Regions from separate parts of the Homo sapiens genome. Here all the other regions are linked to region 1. Evidence: promoter capture Hi-C in human tissues and cell types (Jung and others, 2019). All regions are on one chromosome and are shown on one strand. The core of a region is centred on a gene start or on the middle of the fragment in contact, and the rest is flanking DNA. Distances in the headings are between cores, read along the strand shown.

Region 1 (3,151 bases), core at 358-2,857:
GCAGAAGCCCCAGTCTGCCTGGCTCTTGGTGCTGGGTTCTTACTTCCTCAAGTCTCTGCTCCATCAAAAACACTGGGGAAGCTCAAGGCATTCAGCTCTAGCGGTGGAAGGTCAGAAGATGGGACAGGTGGGCAAGGAGAGCTTTGGAGTGGGGTGGGAGCTTTTCTGGGGCCTCTCTCACCTCCAGGCCCAGGTCCCAGTGGGCAACCAGCTAGCCCGGAGAGGTCTGGGGAGACAGACAGACAGCTGGTGTCCTTCCTGGCTCCTCCGCAGGTTATAGATGTTTCTAGGAGCTCCCTCCAGAGCAGGGCCCAGGAAGTGCTGGGCCCAGGCTGACCCAACCCCGCTTGGCTGGGGCTAGCATCTCTCACTGAGCCCCTTCTCCCCAGACCCTGAGACAAGGCTGCGATTAATCAGTAACAAAAACAGAAACAAGCAGAAAAGTGTAATCAGCTTGGGAAGGGCAGGGCAGGACCGGGCAGGGCTGTGCAATCAGCGTTCCTGCTGGGACCTTTAGCTGATTGGGCCAAAGGGGGCAGGGAGGTGGTCCCAGTAGGGGGATTCAGGGAAGCACCCAGAGATGGGGCCACAGCCAGGCCAGAAGGTCACCCCCTCCCATGCACATCTGTGCACCATATGCCCACACCACTCCCAGCCCCAGGGCCTGCACACCTCCCCCGACCTGCCAGCGTACAACCTTGGCACACACAGGTGGCCACACACTCCCGACATTTGTCCATCTGCATATGGAGTCACAGACACCTGCGCACGTGCCCAGTGGCACATACACACCCTCATGGATAGCAGACATATGCACACGCAGGCTGCTCCCTCAAACACCTGCCCCCACCCCAGCTCTGGGGTGCCGACGTGCCCTGGGGCCTGGGGAAGCCCTGCACATACATTAGGTCTGAGCTGCAGCCATGTGAACTGGCAGGCCCTCACACCAGACCCCACAGGCACCGGGCCATGTCTCTGTCCCGAACTGCCCTGGGGGCCATGAGACACTTTGGCTCCTCTTCTGCAAGCTGAAAGGTAGGGGCTTGGGAAGGGTCCGGGACTGGGGCCCCATTGTGGGGAGCAAGGTCAGCGGCAGGGTGTCAGTCACAGGCAGGGCAGGAAGCCTACCCCAGACGTGTACCCAGCTCTTACCTGCTGCTCCTGCCCTGTGACCTTGGTCAACGTCCTTCTCTCTCAGCCTCAGTTTCCCCACCTTGGATCCTCCTGGCACGGAAACGGTGACTCTTCTTGAGGACCCAGGTGCTTGGGGCCAGTCTCACCTCTCTGGGTCTACAGTTCTTAGTTCCGGGCTCTCCGCTCCTGGTGCGTGGATGGGGGAAGGTGAGCCAAGGGGCAGGAAGGAGGACCCCCGCAACCCACCCCCTCCCTGGTCCTGGTGGCTGCAGACTTAGGGTGAGGAGAGCCAGTGAACAGAGGGGAGCCCTAGTGGGAAAGGGGAATCGGGGCCGAAGGGGAGAAGGAGCCCCGGGCAGGTTTGGGGCGGCCGCTCAGGGGCCGGCGGCGGGAAGGGGCGGGCTGGGGGTGGGGAGCGCGGAGGGGGCGGGCGGGCGGCTGGCGGGGGAGGCGGGGAGCGCAGCCAGCGCGGCACAGAACGAGCGAGCGAGCGAGCGGAGAGGCGGCTACAGCCTGAGCGCCGGGCCGGTAGCGGCCGCGCCGGCGAGCGGACTAGCGGGCGGCGAGCAGCGCGGAGCGCGCGGGGCACCGAGGAGCGGGCGCGGCGGGCACCGCGCGAGGCAGCCGGAGCTCTCGGAAAGGCCAGAGCGGCGCCGCCCCCGCTGCCCCTGCGGGGCCCCGGCTGGGAGCCCGACGAGGGAGCGGGCGGCATGGCCCGGCGGCCCGGGGCGCGGGGGCGCTAGGCCCCCGGAGGGGCGTCCCCAGCCTCGCCGCTGCCGCCGCCGCCCTCCGCAGCCGCGCGCCCCGCCCGCTCCAGCCGCCCCCGGGGCCGCCACCGGCCCATGAGCCCCGGCCTCAAAGTTTGCGGCGGGCGGGCGGGCGCGGAGCCTCCAAGATGCCGTTCCACCCGGTGACGGCGGCGTTGATGTACCGGGGCATCTACACCGTGCCCAACCTGCTGTCGGAGCAGCGCCCGGTGGACATCCCGGAGGACGAGCTGGAGGGTGAGTGTCCGCCGGGATCCCCGCCCCGGCGGCCCTCCTACCTGTGCGCCCAGGTGAAGCGCGGGCCAGGGGCGCGGGGGCGGGGGGCGGGGGGCGGTCCGCAGGTGCCGGTTGCCAGGTGGGCGCCCCAGCTAGCAGCTGTGCCCCGCGGCAAGACCTGTCCGCACCCCGGGGCGCCGCGGTGGGGGTCGCTCAGGCGGAGAGCGGCCCAGCCCCTGCCCGCGTGGTCCCCAGCGCTGCGGAAACTTGCCGGGCCCCGCAGCGGGGTCACGGGGCCGCGCAGTCGGCGGTGACGGTGCGGCAACGCGGCGGACTGGGGCGGGGGTCCGCGCTGAGCCCCCAGCGCCGGCCCGGCCGGAGCACCCGCATCCTGATCCCCTCCGCGGCGCCCGCCCGCGGCTCTCTGCTCGCATTGACATTCCGCTCGTGTCGCTTTAAAAATTCAATCTGCTCGGGCAGCAGCAGAAGGGGAGAGGGCGACTGCCCTGCTCTTGCCCGCTGCGGGGCCGCCCCCGTCCCCACCTGCGGCCGTAGCCCCTTCCCTGCAGCCCTGCGGGGACCCCCAGCCCGGCGCGCCGGGAAGGCGGCCCGGGAGGCGGTGGCGACAACAAGTGGCCGGACTGGGCGGCTAAGTCGCGATAGCCAAGCCTGGAAGGGAAAGGCAGAGAGGCCAGGACCCAAACCCGCCCCCACCCCGTTCCCCCTGCCTCTCAGACTCGCAGGGGGATGGCAGGCCGCTGGCTGGGCGAGGTCAGAGCAGAGGGCAGGGGCAGGGGTCCGGGACAGTGTGTCCTGAGGAGCAGTGAGACCCCTGGGGCCCGCCCAGCTCCTTCCCTGCTGGGCTGGGGGAGGTGCTGAGGTTTCCCCTCCCCCCAGACCTCCTGGAGCCCCCATATGGAGTGGAGTGGGGGATCTGGGCTGATGGGGGTCACGGCCTCCTGGGATCTGCATGTCTGCTGTTGCAAGGGGCTGAGCTCACCCAGAGGATGGGCCTCTCGGGGTACCTTGGATCC
Region 2 (3,151 bases), core at 168-2,667, 450 kb after region 1:
TGTCCAAATGACCATTCTATACTTTTACCACTTAAGTGTTTTAAGTGCCACCCAAGACCAATTTACTCCCTTTCTAAGCAGATGACCTAAACTCTACTTCATAGAAATAATTAAGGCCATCAAACATAAATCATTCAACTTTCTGCTCTCATATTTAAATGTTTACCTATATCTGTATCCATTTTACCTCATTCCTTCGGACCTCAGAAGAAGTAATATCCTTTCTTTTGTCCCAAGTGAATACTTCTTTAGATATGTGCCCTTGATGCAATTTCCTTCATCCTTAGCTCCAGGTCACATAGTCAATGCCTGGTGGACATCTTCATTTGGATACCTCATTCCAATTCAGAATATTGAAAACAGAGTCAGTTGTTTCTTCATCCATCCTCCCTACCATGTTCCTACCTCCTACTCCCTCAACTTCTATTTCCCATCTTGGTCACCGGCATTACCAGAAACTTGGGTAATTTTTGTCATGTTTTACTCCTTTCTTTCCTTTACTATACCTGTGCTTATTCCAATTAATGATCAAGTCATGGTAGGGCTCAGGTTCAGGCACTCATTCTGTCTCTCCTGAGCCCTCTATCCTTTTAATGTTTTCCCTCTAACTTCACTGCGGCTTTTGGTCTTGCTCAGATCATTCATTTTCTGAAGTAGCCTCATTGCTTCTCGTCTTACTCCTCTCCAATCCACCCTTCACACTGCTGCCATAGGGATCTTTCTAAAACAGACCTACTCTTGGAACCCTTCAGGGCTCTCCATTACAGACTCTCATTACAAAGTCCAAACTTTAAAGAATGACATTGTCTGACCCAGCCCACCACTCCCACACCCTTCCTGTTAGCCCCATTGAGCTATACCCAATTCCCCAGAGGTATCCTGCTTTATATCCCTGTACCTGTGCTCCTTCTGTCTAAAATGTGTTATCTGCAACCCCATTTCCTAATGCTGTTTGCCTGGTGAATGTCTGCTCATCTTGCATTACTTAGTTCAAGCTTCATATCCCTTTTGAAGCCTTGCCAGGCCTCCCCAGAAAGAACTGATAAGATCTTTTTGGAACCCCTGCTGTACCCTATATATGACTCTGTCATTTCCTCTGTAACCTGTTTGTTTCCCCGTACCAGGCCTTCTTTGAGGACATGAAGTGTCTTGATCAGCTTTGTATCTTTAGTGTTTAACACAATGTCTGGCACAGAGAAGGTGCCCAAAAAAAATTTATCAAATAAATGAATTAATTATAAAACTTTTAAAGTTATATGATGCCTTAGAGAAGGGAGTAAGGAAGAACTTATGTAACAACTTTTGGAGATAAATGGAAATATCTGATTATGAGCCTAAGAAGAATACACATTTACCTCCTAAGTAGAGATAGTCATGGTCCAGAACTCTGGTCACAAACTACAGAAGATAAAGAAATTAATTGAATGGGCAAACCCCTCATAAGTCCCAGTAAAACATGAGACACTTCCCAATGCGCTCTTGATGTGATTTCCTCCATCCTTAGATCCAGTTCACATAGTCAACACCTGGTGAACATCTTCATTTGGATATCTCACATCTAATTCGGAATCTTAAAAACAGAGTCAATTATTTCTCCATCTATCTTCCCCACCATTTTCCCACCTCTCACTCCCTCAACTTCTTCTATTTCCAATCTTGGTCAATGGCATTACCACAAACTTGGATAATTTTTGTCATGTTTTACTCCTTTCTTTCCTTTACTGTACCAACATATCAAGAAAGCTTACAGCTCCACTGGTGTTGGACATAAGTATTCTCTCAAAGCATTTGCTTTCTTACTGCTTATTCATCACAATGTTAACATAAACTTCATTTACGTTAATAGCATTTATTTTATAATTACTGTTGATCTACCTTTCATTGTGCCAAAAATATAAATGTTAAGGGAATCAAAACTAACATCAGTGGTATAACTTACTTTTAGGGACATAGATCCTTTGAACCATGGAAATCTTTGATCTGGAAACTGCCAAATCCAAAGATTCTAGACATAAACTTAACTACAAATTTATACTGGTGAGGACTGGTTTTCTCAAGAGAAAACATTTTGCCAGATCTGACTTGAAAAATAATTTTGAAGTGAGCAAAATTCACTACACTCACCCCAGGCACACAACTCACTGTATTTCCTGGCTGCCTGGGGCTGCCCTCTCCCGTGGTTCCCCATGCAGGTCTACCTCCTCATGCAAAACAAGTACCGTGCCCTGAACTGCCTTTCCTGTGTCACAACATATCTGTCTTTTTTCCAAAGCCTGTGAGGCTCTGCTTTTAGTAGGCTGACACTTGGAGACCACTTGGTAAATTCACTTACACTAACATAATATTAAGTAAAAATTCCAGGGGAATTTACATTTTTAACAGGAGTATGTTGGATGCATAATACCTAACCATAAGAGCTAATCTAATAAAGGGACATTTCCTACCATCTCATATATTTTCCATGTCTTTTCATGTTTCATTGTCTTTAAACATATTGAACTTTCTGCCTAGAATAACCTCCCCCTGCTCCCACCACCATTTCCAGTCTGGTGAACTGCTGCTCTTCCTTCAATACCCAGCTCAATGTCTCTCTTCTAAGGAGCCTTCTCTAAATTCCCCAGCCTGAGTTGGTCCCTCCCTCTGGACTTCTATAAAACTTTGTGTACTTGTCTCAATTTCTTTAGTCTTTTATTCACTCTTCAAATGACTTCAAGGTGACTTCTACCCTCACCAATCCAATGCACTAAGTAAACCCCATGTGGTGAAATCAAGTGGACATATTTGAGTCCTCATCTTCCTTGCCCTCTCAGCAACACCTGACACTATTGACCACCACCTTTTAATTTCTCCACTCCCTCTTCTTAAAACCCCCTTCCCCTGACTTTCTCAACATGACAGTCTGCTAGTCTTCTTTTATCTCTCTCTTTCTCAGTCTACTTTGTTGGCTCATCCTCTAACTAATCTCTAAATGTTAGATTTCTTTAGGCTATGTCCTGATCCTTTTCCCTTCCCACACTCTGATCTTTCAATAAGCAAACTCTTCCACACCCATGGCATTAGTTATCCTCCGTATGCTTATGACTTTCAAATTTACATCTCCAACCCAGACCTCTTTCCTGAATTTCAGACTTCCACAGATAGCCACTGATTC
Region 3 (3,151 bases), core at 245-2,744, 400 kb after region 1:
TAGTTTTTTTTGTTGTTGTTCTTGTTGTTTTTGAGACAGGGTCTCGCTCTGTTGCCCAGGCTGAAGTACAGTGGTGCAACCATGACTCACTGGTGCCTCAGCTTGCCAAGGAATCCTCCTACCTCAGCCTCTCGAGTAGCTGGGACTATAGGCACATGCCACCACACCTGGCTAATTTTTTATTTTTTAATTTTTTGTAGAGACAAGGGTCTCACTGTTACCAGGGCTGGTCTTAAACTCCTGGGCTCAAGCAATCCTTTCACTTTGACCTCCCAAAGTGCTGGGATTACAGGTATGAGACACCACACTGGGCCTCAGCTAGGTATTTATTTATTTATTTATTTATTTATTTATTTATTTAGGGAAAGAGTCTTGCTCTGTTGTCCAGGCTTGAGTGCTGGAGTGCAGTAGTTGATCACAGCTCACTGCAGCCTTGACCTTCTGGGCCCAAGTAATCCTTTCAGCTCAGCCTCCAGTGTAGCTGAAACCATAGGTGTGCGCCACCACACCCAGCTTATTTTTTATTTTTTTTAGAGACAGGGTCTCCCTATGTTGTCCAGGCTGATCTTGAACTCCTGGGCTCCAGTGATCCTCCTGCCTTGGCCTCTCAAAGTGCTAGGATTACACCACACCTGGTTAGATTTTTACCTTTTAATTAAGAATTTCTTTCTTTTTTTTTTTTAATCAAATGAAAGCAGGACAACCTAAGAACGCATAGTTCAACTAATAGATTAAATAAGAAATGTGATAATCCTTCTCAAGCATACATTTAGTTGAAACTATATGTATTATATGGACTTTGTGGTAAACTTAGTTGATTGAAGTTTCTCTCTCAGCCAGCCAAACATATGAGAGAATTTAGTAAGTCTAGTAAAGTGGTTACTGTCACTTTCCCACTAAGGATTCCTTTTTGTTTTCCTTCATGGAATACATGGAACACACACACACACACACACACACACACACACACACATACATACATGTGTATACATATGTAGAATCTTTATTTCTTTTAAAAATTTTATTTTGAGATATACATATAATAGACTACATAAAAATATGTACAGTTTAAAGAATAATGAGAACATCCATATGTCCTCCATTTAGGCTAAGATGTAGAACATTGCTACTCCCTTAGAAGCCACCACGTGTCCCTTCCTCATTGCACGCCCTCTGAAGGTAACCACTCTCCTGACCTTCATGATAACCTTTCCTTGCTCTTCTTTATAGTTTTGCCATGGATGAGTACATCTACTCGTTTTAAATTTGTATATCAAAGTAATCATACTCTGAGTATTCTCCTTTAATTTTCTTTTGCTTGAACTTCAAAGTTGAGATTTAGCCATTGTGTTATTGTTCTTTCATTTTCACTGCTGTAGAGTTTTCTACTCTTGATAGACATTCTTTTTAATTGCTATAAACATTCATGTACATACCTCCTGGTACACCTGTCAAAGAGTGTCTCTTGGGAATATATGAAACAGTTCTAGGCTTGTGTATTTTCAACTATATTAGGTAAAGCAAAACTGTTTTCCAAAGTGGTCGTACCAACTTACTCGCTACCCCCAGTGAAGGAGAGTACCCTACATTCTTGCCAACACTTATTGTCAGGGTTTATGTTTCCTGCCAGTCTGCTAGATATGAAATGGTAATGCCTCATGATGTTAATTTGAATTTCTCTGATTATTTGTGTGTTTGTGCATCTTTTCTTTGGCCATCCTATTTTGCTCATATTAAATAGCTGTTCATGTCTTTCATGCATTTGTCTCTCAGGTTATTTATCTTTTCCTCAATGGTTTAAAAAATATGTGCTTAGTAATAATTCTTTTTCACTCATTTATGTTGCAATATTTTTTTCATGTTTGTGGCTCATCTTTTCACTTTCTTTTTCTTTTCTTTTTTTTTTTTTTTTTTTTTTTTTTGAGACAGAGTTTCCTCTTGTTGCCCAGCAGGCCTGAGTGCAATGGCACAATCTCAGCTCACGGTAACCTTCTTTCTCCTGGGTTCAAGTGATTCTCCCGCCTCAGCCTCCTGAGTAGCTGGGATTACAGGCATGTGCCACCACACCCAGCTAATTTTGTATTTTTAGTAGAGACAGGGTTTCTCCATGTTGGTCAGGGTGGTCTTGAACTCCCGACCTCAGGTGATCCGTCCGCCTCAGCCTCCCAAAGTGCTGGGATTACAGGCATGAGCCACTGTGCCTGGCTCATCTTTCACTTTCTTTAAGAGGTCTTTTGAGCAATGTAAGTTTTTAATTTTAATATAGTCTAATCTTTTCCTTTAATATGTGCTTTTGGATATCCTTAAGAAATCCTCTACCTAAGGTCATTAATAATATTCTCATATTTTATTCTAAAAGTTTTAATGCTTTTCTTTTTACATTTAGGTTTATAATCCACTTAAAGTTTATTTTCATTTATGGAGTGAAATAGACCAGACTTTCTTAACACTTTTAAATTCAAGAATAATAAACATACAGTAAAACATATGTATCAGTGATACAGCTCAATAAATATTCACAAACTGAACACTAGAGCTGGGATGAGGGTGATGCAAGCAAGGTGCCTAGGGAGCATATTTTAAGGAAGATCTCAGGTGCCAAGAGTAAGGACCTCCTTACATTTTGCCCCCTGGACATCTTGCTTGCTTTGTCTTTGTCACAACCCTACTGAATAAATATGTGAAATCAGCACTCAGATCAAGAAATAGAATTCTTCCAGACCCTGAGAAACCCCCAGTCTTATTTTACAGTCACTATTCTGCTCACAAGAATATTGCTATCCTGACTTCTATTCGCATAGATTAGTTTCTCCTCTTTATTTTATAGACATGGAATCATAGAGTATGGACTTTTTTTTTTTGAGACGGAGTCTCCCACTGTCTCCCAGGCTGGAGTGCAGTGGTGCGATCTCTGCTTTGCTCACTGCAAGTTCCGCCTCCTGGGTTCACGCCATTCTCCTGTCTCAGCCTCTCAAGTAGCTGGGACTACAGGCGCCCGCCACCACACCGCCTAATTTTTTGTATTTTTGGTAGAGATGGGGTTTCACCGTGTTAGCCAGGATGGTCTTGATCTCCTGACCTCTTGATCAGCCCGCCTCGGCCTGCCAAAGTGCTGGGATTACAGGTGTGAGCCACCACGCAGGGCCGAGTA
Region 4 (3,151 bases), core at 261-2,760, 330 kb after region 1:
GGCGCCTGTAGTTCCAGCTACTAGGGAGGCTGAGGCAGGAGAATAACTTGAACCTGGGAGGACAGCTTGTAGTGAGCTGAGATTGTGCCACTGCACTCCAGCCTGGGTGACAGAGCGAGACTCCATCTCAAAAAAAAAAAAGGAAAATAATAATAATAATAATAACCCGTTATTTGTCTTTTCATTTGCTTTCTCTTTCAAGTATACAGTGGAGTTTCCAAACACTGAGTGACATGTGAGAGCTTAAAAAATTAAATGCAGAAGTTGATTTAAGAATCCAGCTGTCTTCTTTTGAGCCAGACATTAAAGAAATTTACAAAGATGTAAAACAATGACATTCTTCCCATTATCGTTTTGTTTTAGACAATGTAGTTATTTTTCATTTAAATGTTATGTTAATGTGTAATGAGTTTATTAGTGTTATTTCTAAATGAGTTAAATATTTTAAAGTTTCTCTATTTTGGGCTGGGTGTGGTGGCTCACACCTGTAATCCCAGCACGTTGGGAGGCCAAGGTGAGTGGATTACTTGAGGTCAGGAGTTCAAGACCAGCCTGGCCAACATGCAAAACCCTGTCTCTACTAAAAATGCAAAAATCAGCCAGGTGTGGTGCCACACGCCTGTAATCCCAGCTACTTGGGAGGCTGAGGCAGGAGAATTGCTTGAGACTAGGAGGCGGAGATTGCAGTGAGCTGAGATCGCGCCACTGCACTCCAGCCTGGGTGAAAGAGCAAGACTCTATCTCAAAAAAATAAAATAAAATAAAAATAAAGTTTGTCCATTTCAATTTATAATATGGTAATTTTTTTTTTTTTTTTAAACAGGGTCTTACTCTGTCACTCAGGCTAAAGTGCAGTGGTGTGATCAGAACTCACTGCAGTCTCAAACCCCTGGGCTCAAGTGATTCTCCTGCCTCAGCCTTGTGACCAGCTGGGAGTATAGGCACACACCTTCGTGCTTAGCTAATTTTTACATTTTTTGTAGAGATGGGCTTTCACTATGTTGATAGGCTGGTCTGGAATTCCTGCGCTCAAGTGATCCTCCTGCTTCAGCCTTCCAAAGTGCTGGGATTAGAGGTTTGAGCCACTGTGCCTTGCTAATATGATAAAATGTGATAGCTGTTAAATAAACACAGGATTTTTAGGGGTCCATAGTAATTTTTTTTATTAAAAGTGTTTTAAAAGTGAGGTATAATTTATATACAGTAAAATGCACAAGTCTTAAATGTACAACTCAATTAATTTTTACGTATGTATACACCATGAAACCTTCACCCACTTCAACATACAGACCATTTCCTTCACCCTGGAAGGACCCTTGCACCTTATTGAATCAATACCTAGTCCTCCGGAGGTAACCATTATTCTGATTTCTACCACCATAGATTAGTTTTGCTTGATTTTGAATGTCATATGAATGGAATCATATACTTTTTTGTTTGGCTTTTTTTTTTTTAATCTCAGCATAAAGTTTTTGAGATTCATCCATGCTGTTCTGCATATTACAACATTTTTTTACTTTTATTATTGCTGGTGATATTCCATTCTCTGATTATATCACAAACTGTTCTATGTTTTTCTTGATGGATATTTGGATTTTGTCAAGTTTTTGGCTATTAGTAATTAAGTGGCTATGAATATTCTTGTATAAGACTTTTGGTGGACATATAAACTAATTTTTCTTGAGCATATTCCTGGATGTGGAATTGCTGGGTCCTATAGTTGGCTTTATAAGAAACTGCTGGCCAGGTGCAGTGGCTCACACCTGTAATCCCAGCACTTTGGGAGGCCGAGATGGGTGGATCACTTGAGCTCAGGAGTTTGAGACCAACCCGGCAAACATGGTGAAGCCCCGTCTCTACTAATAATACAAAAATTAGCCGGGCATGGTGGTACACTCCTGTAATCTCAGCTACTCGAGAGGCTGAGGCACAAGAATCACTTGAACCCAGGAGGTGGAGTTTGCATTAAGCTGAGATTGCAACACTACACTCCAGCCTGGGTGACAGAGTGAAACTGTGTCTCAAAAACAAACAAACAAACAAAAAACGAAACAAAGGCCAGGCGTGGTGGCTCATGCCTGTAATCCCAGCACTTTGGGAGGCTAAGGTGGGCGGGTCACCTGAGGCCAGGAGTTCGAGACCAGCCTGGACAACATGGTGAAACCCCATCTCTACTAACAATACAAAAATTAGCCAGGTGTGGTAGCACATGCCTGTAATCCCAGCCACTTGGGAGGCTGAGGCAGGAGAGTTGCTTAAACCCGGGAGGCAGAGGTTGCAGTGAGCTGAGCTCACCACTGCACTCCAGCCTGGGCGACAGAGTGAGACTCTGTCTTGGAAAAAAAAAAAAGAAAAAGAAAAAGAAAAGATCGATAATACTAAGTGGTGATGAGCATGAGTAACAATTGGAAATCTCATACATTGCTGGTAGAAATACAAAATGGTAAAGCCATTTGGAAAAACAATAGGCAATCTCTTATAAACATACTCGTCCATTTGACATAGCAATCCTATTTTTAGGTATTTATCCAAGAGAAATGAAAGCATATCCATACAAACACCCGAATGTGAATGCTCATAGTAGCCTAATTCAAAGTAGCCCTAAACTAGAAACAATCCAAAAGTCTAACAACTGGTGCATGGATAAACAAATTGTGGCCCATCCACATAATGGAAAGCTACCCAGCAATGGAAAGGAACAAACAAGTGATACATGCAACAACATGGATGAATCTCAAAAGCACTGTGGTCAGTTGAAAAAAAAAAAAGGCAAACACAAAGGAGTACATACCATATGATTCCACTTATATGACATTCTAGAAAAGGCAAAACTATAGGGACAGGAAACATCAATGGTTGCCAGGGACTGTGGGTGAGGAGAGGAGACTTGACTATAAAGGAACATGAGGAAATTTTTCAGGGTGACAGAAATGTTCTGTATCTTGATATGGTGGTGATTACATGATTGTATACATTTGCCAAAACTCACAGAATTATATACTTATAAAGGGTGAATTTTACTATATATAAATTATGCCTCAATAGACCTGACTTTTAAAAATAAACATTTCAAAAATTAAGACAAAACCCCTCAAAAAGTCATTACCTTGCAAACAAAAAGAATTCCTTTTAAGCACGGCCTGACACAGAA
Region 5 (3,151 bases), core at 317-2,816, 310 kb after region 1:
CTGTTCTCTGGGGCCTCGTGGAGAGGGAGCCTCCAGGCCCATTCAAAGCTTTATTAGATTTAAAAGTAAGATCTGGTATGAAGAAAGGTTTTGTTTGTTTCTTAAAATAAAAAGTCTGAAAATCACTAATCCAATCTCCTCCTTTTTCATTGAGGAAACTGAGACTCAGAGAGGGCCAAAGACATCCAGATTACCAATGAGTTAACAGCAAAATTTGAATAAAAGTCATTCTTGGCCAGGCACAGTGGTTCATGCCTGTAATCCCAGCACTTTGGGAGGCCGAGGTGGGAGGATCACTTGAGCCCAAGAGTTCAAGACCAGCCTGGGCAATATGTTGAGACCCATCTCTACGAAAAATATAAATAAACCTGTCTCTACAAAAAATATGAATAAACTAGTCAGGAATGGTGGTGCACACCTGTAGTCCCAGCTACTTGGGAGCCTAAGGTGGGAGGATCTCTTGAGCCTAGGAGTTTCAGGCTGTGGTGAGCCATGATCACGCCACTGCACTCCAGCCTGGGCAACAGAGGGAGACCCTGTCCCATAAAAAAAGGAAAATACTTTCCCGACTCCTAACCCTCTTCTTGTGCTCTTGGGCCTCCAGAAAGCCTGATGTAAATAGCTGTATTGGTTCTCGTTGAAATCTCAGCGAGGAGCTTAGGCAATTGCCATCACAAGGCTTGAATTATGAGCCCTTCTCTCCCTCTTAACCAAAATCAAAATGTTGTGATAGTCTAATCCAGTGTTTTTGTTTTTAACTTTTCAAATACATAAAAACAAATGATATGTTATTAGCATGAATCATCACAGTTTAAGTCATAACATCTTAAAATCAGTGGGCTTGGGGAGGGAGCATTTTTCATTAGTGCAGATGATAGGTTCACTGTGAACTGTCCCAGCATCCAATTTCTGGATTTTGTTTTAGTTGTTATATAATATGGGGGAGTTTAATTTTAAAAAATTTGAGTTTTATAGGTAAGCGGTTGCAAATGGTAGTAGTCACAGCTTGCCTGCAATCTCTTGTTGACAAAACTGAAGTACATGCCTGAAAAAAGGGATTAATAGAAGAATATCCAAAACCTGCTTTCAGTCTTTATCATCCATATATCAGATGAGAGACACCCAAAGATTTATAAGCACTAAAATTACTTTATGCTCAGGGCCACCAGGTCTGAGTTGGCCCTGGGCCTAATGATCACAGCACTAAGCTGGTGCCCTCCCAGTCAGTGACCCCTGCAAAGGCCACACACACACACACAGCAATACAGACTGTACAGTGAAGTCTCAAGCAGCCTCACTGAATGTGTTTTAAACCTTTGGGTGTATATAGTTTAAAAGACGGTTATTAATATTTATCAGGACATTATTTATTAATATCAGGACAAATTCTCCTGAGGCAGTGCCACAAAAGTTGGTTTGAAAATCACCAGTTTGGTGGAAAGCCCCTGTGTTTTAGAGCCCACAGACCTGGGGTGGGATCCTAGCCCTGCAGCACCAGCTGAGTTGCTCATGGGTGTATGAGGAACTCGGAGACATTTCCTCATCTGTAGCAGAGCACATGGCATATAAATGGAGTGGGAAGGTGGGGGCCTAGCAAATGCTGTCCTCCCCACTGTCCCATGAAATGAGATAGATAGATGATAGCATTTCTGTCTCTGGCTTCTAGCAGGCATTTGGAACAATCAATCAGAGCCAGGCAGCACTTCTATTCCACTGTGTGTTGAAACTAGACCCTGCTCTCGCTTCCACCTTACAGGGGAAAACATTTGACTTTGAAGCATTCCAATCTGAGTTTTGCACTAAGTTACAAATGAATCACTAGCTGAAGAAGACAAACTAAAGTTCATATATGTGTTTTAGTTTTATTTATTTTGAGACAGAGTCTCACTTTGTTACCCAGGCTGGAGTGCAGTGGCGCGATCTCGACTCGCTGCAACCTCCGCTTCCCAGATTCAAGTGATTCTCCCGCCTCAGCCTCTTGAGTAGCTGGAATTACAGGCACCCACCATCATGCCCAGCTAATTTTTGTATTTTTGTAGAGATAGGGTTTCACCATGTTGGCCAGGCTGGTTGAACTCCTGACGTCAGGTGAAATGCCCGCCTCAGCCTCCCAAAGTGCTAGGATTACAGGCGTGAGCCACCGTGCCTGGCCTTATATATGTGTTTTGTTTTTAAATTAACATTTTGTAAACAGATGGTGGTCTGCATGTGCACCGATGCTTTAAGAGTGTATGGAGCCAATGGGAAGGGAGTGTGGAGAGAAACTGCTTGTTGGGGTTGAGGCAGCATCTAAGAACGCCTGAGTCCTGCCATGGCAACAATCCTGCAAAGACAGACAGGACCTCACTTTGTTAAACTGATGAGTTTAAGTTGTTCAAGACTAAAGACGAAGCCAGAAGATGCAGACTAGCTTCGCAGGCTGAGAAGTGGGGAAGGTGGAGCCAGGTGGACCTCGCCTCTGCATCACAGAGGCCTGGGTCCAGGCTATGGTGCTCTTAGCATCTCTTTAAGAATAAATCCCAGAGCCCAAGGTTGGAAGAGGAAGTGGAGGCCTTGCGTTCAGATGGCCCTCCCCACCCTCTCCAATGACAGAGGAGCCCAAGGTTGCCCAACATATTTAAGGCCATGTCATCCGAGTTCAAATAGACATGAGTTTGTAGTAAGTGGTTGCTGCACTTTGCCAGCTGGAAGATCAAGCCTTAGAACTGGAGGTTCTTTCAAGTCCCCCAGAAAGTGCTGGCATACAATGTGTACCAGGGCAGCTCCCTCTTTAGAAGTCCCTGTCAGCCCTTGGGACATAAACTGCATCCCCTGGCCCCTTGGGGGTGGTCTGATTCTTTCTGTTCTCTTTCATCTGATTCAGTAATAAGCTAGCTAGCTAGCTGCTGCCTTATTACCGCCTAACTAGAGACTCCTAGTTTTGGAAAGACAGTAAGATGTCAGCTTGCCAGCCTCTATTACTGGGATGAGGAGACGGAAATGGAAACCATGAGAATGGTGTGCCTCTCGACAGTTGCCACTGACCCCTGGAGAGGAGTCCTAGTTGGGTTGGGAGGAAGGGGGTTGGGCTTGAACTCTCCCTGCCCCCTTACTTTTGGAGCAGCAGCATCCCCCCGAGGAGCTGAGAGGTCACTCCCTGGGTCAAGCAGCC

What was found. Contacts are between HindIII fragments. The study calls those that stand out against the background at their distance.
Region 2: a contact is called between a fragment that was not itself captured here and the fragment with the promoter of CABP7 in region 1, in 4 of the 25 tissues and cell types used here (IMR-90 fibroblasts, mesendoderm cells, spleen and 1 more).
Region 3: a fragment that was not itself captured here is called in contact with the fragment with the promoter of CABP7 in region 1 in 4 of the 25 tissues and cell types used here (bladder, dorsolateral prefrontal cortex, lymphoblastoid cells and 1 more).
Region 4: a fragment that was not itself captured here is called in contact with the fragment with the promoter of CABP7 in region 1 in 4 of the 25 tissues and cell types used here (IMR-90 fibroblasts, lymphoblastoid cells, mesenchymal stem cells and 1 more).
Region 5: a contact is called between a fragment that was not itself captured here and the fragment with the promoter of CABP7 in region 1, in 7 of the 25 tissues and cell types used here (IMR-90 fibroblasts, dorsolateral prefrontal cortex, hippocampus and 4 more).

What each region holds. Positions count from the first base shown.
Region 1 is chr22:29,718,396-29,721,546 of GRCh38, forward strand. CABP7 (calcium binding protein 7) reads left to right here and starts at 1,608. Exons shown (of 5, transcript NM_182527.3): 1 at 1,608-2,138. The coding sequence starts at 2,030. It overlaps CABP7-DT (CABP7 divergent transcript), which reads right to left and starts at 1,508. Exons shown (of 3, transcript NR_186695.1): 1 at 1,153-1,508. RefSeq lists an enhancer at 2,917-3,151. The HindIII fragment of the contact is 29,567 bases long and covers 1-3,151 here.
Region 2 is chr22:30,168,146-30,171,296 of GRCh38, forward strand. The region is part of intron 10 of HORMAD2 (HORMA domain containing 2); the gene reads left to right. Among named protein-coding and RNA genes, the nearest start is that of LIF-AS1, 69 kb to the right of the region's middle. The HindIII fragment of the contact is 4,667 bases long and covers 1-3,151 here.
Region 3 is chr22:30,123,321-30,126,471 of GRCh38, forward strand. The region is part of intron 10 of HORMAD2 (HORMA domain containing 2); the gene reads left to right. Among named protein-coding and RNA genes, the nearest start is that of HORMAD2, 44 kb to the left of the region's middle. The HindIII fragment of the contact is 8,876 bases long and covers 1-3,151 here.
Region 4 is chr22:30,051,001-30,054,151 of GRCh38, forward strand. All of the region lies in intron 1 of HORMAD2-AS1 (HORMAD2 and MTMR3 antisense RNA 1), which reads right to left. Among named protein-coding and RNA genes, the nearest start is that of HORMAD2-AS1, 28 kb to the right of the region's middle. The HindIII fragment of the contact is 4,537 bases long and covers 1-3,151 here.
Region 5 is chr22:30,030,740-30,033,890 of GRCh38, forward strand. The region is part of intron 3 of HORMAD2-AS1 (HORMAD2 and MTMR3 antisense RNA 1); the gene reads right to left. It overlaps MTMR3 (myotubularin related protein 3), which reads left to right. Exons shown (of 20, transcript NM_021090.4): 20 at 1-129. Among named protein-coding and RNA genes, the nearest start is that of MIR6818, 25 kb to the left of the region's middle. The HindIII fragment of the contact is 4,791 bases long and covers 1-3,151 here.